Regions from separate parts of the Homo sapiens genome. Here region 1 is linked to region 2. Evidence: promoter capture Hi-C in human tissues and cell types (Jung and others, 2019). All regions are on one chromosome and are shown on one strand. The core of a region is centred on a gene start or on the middle of the fragment in contact, and the rest is flanking DNA. Distances in the headings are between cores, read along the strand shown. Region 1 overlaps GNB1 (G protein subunit beta 1). Region 2 holds the start of CDK11B (cyclin dependent kinase 11B).

Evidence for each region. Contacts are between HindIII fragments. The study calls those that stand out against the background at their distance.
Region 1: a contact is called between a fragment that was not itself captured here and the fragment with the promoter of CDK11B in region 2, in 7 of the 25 tissues and cell types used here (adrenal gland, aorta, dorsolateral prefrontal cortex and 4 more).

What each region holds. Positions count from the first base shown.
Region 1 is chr1:1,883,863-1,887,277 of GRCh38, forward strand. The region is part of intron 1 of GNB1 (G protein subunit beta 1); the gene reads right to left. Among named protein-coding and RNA genes, the nearest start is that of GNB1, 5.5 kb to the right of the region's middle. The HindIII fragment of the contact is 4,669 bases long and covers 1-3,415 here.
Region 2 is chr1:1,657,754-1,661,292 of GRCh38, forward strand. It overlaps CDK11B (cyclin dependent kinase 11B), which reads right to left and starts at 1,251. Exons shown (of 20, transcript NM_033486.3): 1 at 1,161-1,251. RefSeq lists enhancers at 1,094-1,816, 1,248-1,337, 1,358-1,637. The HindIII fragment of the contact is 36,520 bases long and covers 1-3,539 here.

The sequences.
Region 1 (3,415 bases), core at 475-2,974, 230 kb after region 2:
TCACTCCCTAGATTTTAGGAATTATTTTAAAATTCCTATGAGAAATTTTCTGAAACCTATTGTAGACTCTTTTGACATGCTCATCTAATTATAAAGTGTCCGGACTTTTTTTTTTTTTTTTTGACCGAGTTTCACTCTTGTTGCCCAGGCTGCAGTACAATGGCACAATCTCGGCTCACCGCAACCTCCGCCTCCCAGGTTCAAGCGATTCTCTTGCCTCTGCCTCCCGAGTAGCTGAGATTACAGGCATGTGCCACCATGCCCGACTAATTTTTTTTTTTTTTTTGAGATGGAGTTTCCTTCTTGTTGCCCAGGCTGGAGTGCAATGGCACGATCTCGGCTCACTGCAACCTCAGCCTCCCGAGTAGCTGGAATTACAGGCATGCATCACCATGCCTGGGTAATTTTTTGTATTTTTAGTAGAGATGGGGTTTCTCCATGTTGGCCAGGCTGATCCACCCTCCTCGGCCTCCCAAAGTGCTGGAATTACAGGCGTGAGCCACCGCGTCTGGGCTAATTTTGTATTTTCAGTAGAGACAGGGTTTCTCCATGTTGGTCAGGCTGGTCTTGAACTCCCAACCTCAGGTGATCCGCTCACCTTGGCCTCCCAAAGTGTTGGGTTTACAGGCATGAGCCACCACACCCAGCCCAGAATTTTTTAAGCTTTATTAACTACAACACTCGGCAGAAGTTGAGTGTCTGTAATCAACATAGGGAATATATTTTCTAAGTGCTACAGGACTGCACACAGACATGCATGGAGACATGATTACCCACCAGTAAACAAGAATACATTCCACTGATGCCCTTAGTATTCCCATTCTTTTTTTTTTTTTGAGAGACGGAGTCTTGCTCTGTCGCCCAGGCTGGAGTGCAGTGGCGCGATCTCCACTCACTGCGAGGTCTGCCTCCCGGGTTCACACCATTCTCCTGCCTCAGCCTCCCAAGTAGCTGGGACTACAGGTGCCTGCCACCACGCCCGGCTAATTTTTTTGTATTTTTAGCAGAGACAGGGTTTCACTGTGTTAGCCAGGTTGGTCTCGATCTCCTGACATCGTGATCTGCCCGCCTGGGCCTCCCAAAGTGCTGGGATTACAGGCATGAGCCACCGTGCCCGGCCAGTATTCCAATTCTAACAGGTGAATGAATTAATACATAAAGTCCTCTCTTGATATAATGCATTAGTAAGTTTGGAGCAATGAATTATTAAATCATAAAAATATTTTATCTATGGCAAAATAGGTTCAACAGAATAAACTTAAAAATTAAGCTGGGCACGGTGGCTCACACCTGTAATCCCAGCACTTTGGGAGGCGGAGGCGGGCGGATCACTTGAGGTCAGCAGTTTGAGACCAGCCTGGCCAACATGGTGAAACCCCATCTCTACTAAAACTACAAAAATTAGCCAGGCATGGTGGCGGGCACCTGTAATCTCAGCTACTTGGGAGGCTGAGGCAGGAGAATCACTTGAACCCGGGAGGCAGAAGTTGCAGTGAGCCAGGACAGCGCCATTGCACTCCAGCCTGGGCAACAGGAAGGAAACTCCATCTCAAAAAAAAAAGAAAGAAAAAAGGAATTACCTTAGATAATCTTAATCTGGTCTTTTAAATCAGTAAGCTTTTAAAAAATGGGTCTTTCTCAGAATTCTAATTTAAGAAGACATAAATAAGGAAATACTTCCACTTAATCTTTTTTTTTTTTTTTTTTTTTGTGAAACGGAGTCTCGCTCAGTCACCCAGGCTGGAGTGCAGTAGCACGATCTCGGCTCACTGCAAGCTCCGCCTCCCGGGTTCACGCCATTCTCCTGCCTCAGCCTCCCAAGTAGCTGGGACTACAGGCGCCCGCCACCACACCCAGCTAATTTTTTTGGTATTTTTAGTAGCAATGGGGTTTCACCGTGTTAGCCAGGATGGTCTCAATCTCCTGACCTCGTGATCCGCCCACGTCGGCCTCCCAAAGTGCTGGGATTACAGGCGTGAGCCACCGTGCCCGGCCCACTTAATCTTAAAAAAAAAAAAAAGCAAGCAAGCAACATTGCTCTATAAAACAGAAAGCTTTTCTACCACTGAAAGCCAGGAGTAATTTCCACTGATTACCATGGCACCCAATGGTAGGCACTGACACAAGAACAAGAGGCTAAAAGGTTTAAAAAAGCTTTCAGCATTCCGGCAGGGCACGGTGGCTCACGCCTGTAATCCTAGAACTTTGGGAGGCTCAGACAGGCAGATCACCGGAGGTCAGGAGTTCAAGACCAGCCTGGCCAACATGGTGAAACCCCATCTCTACTAAAATAAAATTTTAAAAAATTATCCGGGCATGACGGCGGGTGCCTGTAATCCCAGCTACTCGGGAGGCTGAGACTGGAGAATCACTTGAACCCGTGAGATGGTGGTTGCAGTGAGCCGAGATTGCGCCACTGCACTCCAGACTGGGTGGCTGAGTGGGACTCTGTCTCACAAAAAAAGCTTTCAGCATTCCACTAATCCACTAGCAAACTCAAATGTCTATAGATTGTCTCTATTTCTTCAATCAAAGTTCTAGAACAAAATGCATAGCTTTGAAATAGGTGGTGCTCTGTCCCTCTCCCAGAGCAGCTGATGTGATGTTGCATTTCTCTCTCTTCATACACACTCACTCCCATATACGTTGGCCCTGCTTTTTCTTTCAGTAATGTTGAACACTGCAGTTTCATAAATTTCTGATAGTTTCCATTTTAAATTTATTTTATCTCCTCATTCTGTGTTCCTAAACCAAACACTTAACTGAATTGCCTACTTCATAATCTCTCCAACCACTCTTAACAAATGCAAACCTGAAATCAGAATGTAAACCAGTTTAAAATTTTTTTTATTTTTATTTTTTGAGACGGAGTCTCGCTGTGTCGCCCAGGCTGGAGTGCAGTGGCCGATCTTGGCTCACTGCAAGCTCCCCCTCCCGGGTTCCTGCCATTCTCCTGCCTCAGCCTCCTGAGTAGCTGGGATTACAGGTGCCCAGCACCACGCCCAGCTAATTTTTTGTAGAGAAGTAATTTTAGTAGAGAAGGGGTTTCACCGTGTTAGCCAGGGTGGTCTCGATCTCCTGACCTCATGATCCGCCTGACTCGGCCTCCCAAAGTGCTGGGATTACAGGTGTGAGCCACCACGCCCGGTCAAACCAGTTTAAAATTTTATAAAAATTTTTGTTCCATGTCTTGTGAGACTTACACTAAATAGGGGTTTCAAAATAACATGGCCTGCCATATGGTCAAGCCAGATTTAAAAATTGAGAATATCTATTACCAATCCACTAATGCTAAAGCCAAAGTCACAGACAGTAAGAATGTAATCCAATTTAGAGACCAACATGAGCCAAATCTTTCGGGCAGAGAAAAACAACGACAAAACTATAATAAATGCCAACACTGCACTTCTAAAAT
Region 2 (3,539 bases), core at 1-2,500:
CCCAGTGTGGTGGCGCGTGCCTGTATTCCTAGCTACAGGAAGGAGGCTGCTAGAGGCAGGAGGATCACTTGAATCAGAGAGGTCAAGGCTGCAATGAGCCAAGACTGCGCCACTGCACTCCAGCCTAGATAACAAAGTAAGACTTGGTTAAAAAAAAAAAAAAAAAAAAAAAAGTAAGCTCTAGGCTGAGGCGGGTGGATCACAAGGTCAGGAGGTCAAGACCAGCCTGGCCAACACGGCGAAAACCCTGTCTCCACTAAAAATACAAAACTTAGCTGGGCGTGGTGGCGGGTGCCTGTAATCCCAGCTACTCGGGAGGCCGAGGCAGCAGAATCGCTTGAATCCGAAAGGCGGAGGTTCCGGTGAGCCGAGGTCGCGTCACTGCACTCCAGCAAGACCCCGTCTCAAAAAAAAAAGAAAAAAAAACAAGAATGATAAGTTGTAAGCCAGGCAAGGTGGCGAGCGCCTGTAGTCCCATATACTCTGCAAGCTGAGATGGGAGACCGATTGAGCCCAGGAGTTCCAGGCTGAAGTGCGCTTGTGAACAGCCACTGCGCTGCAGCATGGGCGACAAAAAAGAGTGATGGGTTCTGAAAAATGACCGCTTGAAATCAAGTCTCGTTTCTGTCATTCTTGTATGGTCTTGGGTAACGTAATTCACCTCAGTTTAGTCTTCCGTACAACCAGAATAACAACACCTACGTGATAGTATCGATCGCGGATTAAAGATCATCCGTTTAAAGGCTCTTAACTCAGGACCTGCCACTCATCAAACACTGCTTTTACTGTCAGAATCTGCTAGAAAGACCGCTTGGACTACGTGAAGCCACTAGCACACTGGACAGCTGCACCTTGAGACCGGGGAGATGCTCCGAGATGTGCTCGCGAACAAGGCCACCTGACCCGGGCACTGGGCTATTTCCTCGGGTTCAGTCCCGCACACTTGAGGTTCAGCCTGGCAGACGTTGGCTCCAGACAGCGTTTGGACCCGCCGCCTCCACCACCCAAAGTTCCGTGCGGGATGAGACTGTCCGCGGAAGCGAGGGTGTCGCTCGCCCCCGGGCCCGGGTCCGCCCCGCTCCGAGGCCTGCTCGGAAGAAAGACCTCGGTGCGCAGTTCTCCTCGCGCTCCCACACCTGGTCCGCCCAGTCGGAACTCACCCCTACGCCGCCGCCGCTGCCGCCGCCGCCGCCGCCGGTCCCGGAGCCAGAGAAGAAACAGCAACCGGCGCGCGCCAAAAGTATCGTCACTTCCTGTATTGGCGCGTAATGATGATATAATAGCCGACCTCCGGCCCAGAACTCGAGACAACGACAGGGGCTCGCTCTGTGCGGCACTTCCTGTGTCTGCGCGGGATGATAACGCATAAAACAGCGCTTGCTCAGGTCCAGGACGCCAGAAGAAACAGCCCGGTGAGCGCACTTCCGACTTCGGCGCGGGCTGTGACGCAGGAATCGGGACTCCGGAGGAGCGACGCCCACTTTTGGAGCAGTTTGCGCCTGCGCGGAACGCGTGGCCGGCTTCCGGAATCCTACCGGGACTTTTCCGGTAGCGAAGCCCGCGCCTGTGCCAAGGCTTGCGAGCAGAATGCCTTCGCGATGGACGCCCGCATTCCACCCCCTTGACCGCTGGGACCCCTAGTGGCGGGTGGGTGGAGCGCGCTCCATTTACCTGCTGGTTACCTCGTGAGGCGCCTCAGGTCTGTGTGTCTTGTAAAGGCCGATCTCGGAATTTAACTCTGAACCTTACTCAGAAACAGGGCAGGGAGAGCTCTTACGATGTGATTTTATTTTATTTATTCATGTATTTACTTTTGAGTCGGAGCCTTGCTCTGCCGCCCAGGTTGGAGTGCAGTGGCGTGGTCTTGGCTCACTGCAGCCTCCTCCCGGGTTCAAGGAATTTTCCTGCCTCAGCCTCCCGAGTAGCTGGAACCACAGGCCCGCGCCACCACGCCCGGCTAATTTTTATATTTTTGGTAGAGACGAGGTTTCGCCATATTGGCCAGGCTGGTCTCGAACTCCTGACCTCAAGTGATCCGCCCGCTTCGTCCTCCTAAAGTGCTGGGATTACAGGCGTGAGCCACCGCGCCCGGCCTTTTACAATGTGATTTTGAAGCTGACACTGGCAGTGGGTCCTCAAAGTGCAGACTCACTGGGTATGGTGCTTCCCCCAACTCCCAGGGCCCCACTCCAAACCCATGGATTCAGAGCATTGCAGGAGAAGAGGATAAAACGAGCAATTAATTCCCTTTCCATATGTCAGGTTTTCCTCTTGACTTGAAAAGTCACAGAAAAATGCTTTAGACATCTGAATCTCAGGAAACAAACAATGGAAGATAAACATCCGCATTTACTGGGCCTGAAATGGGAAAATGAAAGATGTGGCAAGAAACTGACAAGGGCCCAAGAAGGGCGATGGGTATCGGAATTTTTTTCATCCCGGAATGAAATGCTGCTTGCTTTGTGTACCCAAGCTCTTTTTTTATTTTTATTTTTTTGAGACGGAGTCTCGCTCTGTTGCCCAGGCTGGAGTGCAGTGGCGCGATCTCGGGTCACTGGAAGCTCCGCCACCCGGGTTCACGCCATTCTCCCGCCTCCACTCCATTCGCCCGCATTAGGCTCCTGAGTACCTGTGACTACAGGCGCCTGCCACCATGCCCGGCTAATTTTTTTTTTATTTTGGGTAGAGACGGGGTTTTACCGTGTTAGCCAGGATGGTCTCAATCTCCTGACCTCGTGATCAGCCTGCCTCTGCCTCCCAAAGTGCTGGGATTACAGGCGTGAGCCACCGCGCCTGGCCTCCCCCAAGCTCTTAATGTTGCTTCCTGAGTTCTTGGTAACTGGGGAAATCTCCCTATTTTTTTATTTTTATTTTTTTTTGAGACGGAGTCTTGCTCTGTCGCCCAGGCTGGAGTGCAGTGGCGCAATCTCGGCTCACTGCAAGCCCCACCTCCCGGGTTCAACGCCATTATCCTGCGAGCCTCAGCCTCCCGAGTAGCTGGGACTACAGGCGTCCACCACTACGCCCGGCTAATTTTTTTGTGTTTTTAGTTGAGATGGGGTTTCACTGTATTAGCCAGGATGGTCTTGATCTCATGACCTTGTGATCTGCCTGCCTTGGCCTCCCAAAGGGTTGGGATTACAGGCGTGAGCCACAGCACGTTTTTTTCTGTTTTGAGAAAAAGTCTCGCTGTGTCACCCAGGCTGGAGTGCAGTGGCACAATTTTGGGTAACTGCAGCCTCCGCCTCCTGGGTACAAGTGATTCTCCTGCCTCAGCCTCCCGAGTAGCTGGGATTATAGGCGTGCGCCACCACACCTGGCTAACTTTTGTATTTTTAGTAGCGACAGGATTTTGCCATGTTGGCCAGGCTGGTCTTGAACTCCTGACCTAAAGTATCTGCCCACCAGCCTCCCACAGTGCTGAAATTATAGTCATGAGCCACCGTGCCCGGCCAAAAATCTCCAGTTTACCCTTCCTTTGTGAAATCTGTGAGTACCCAAATGCAGCCACTCATGTCAAACCCTAACAAAATCGACCC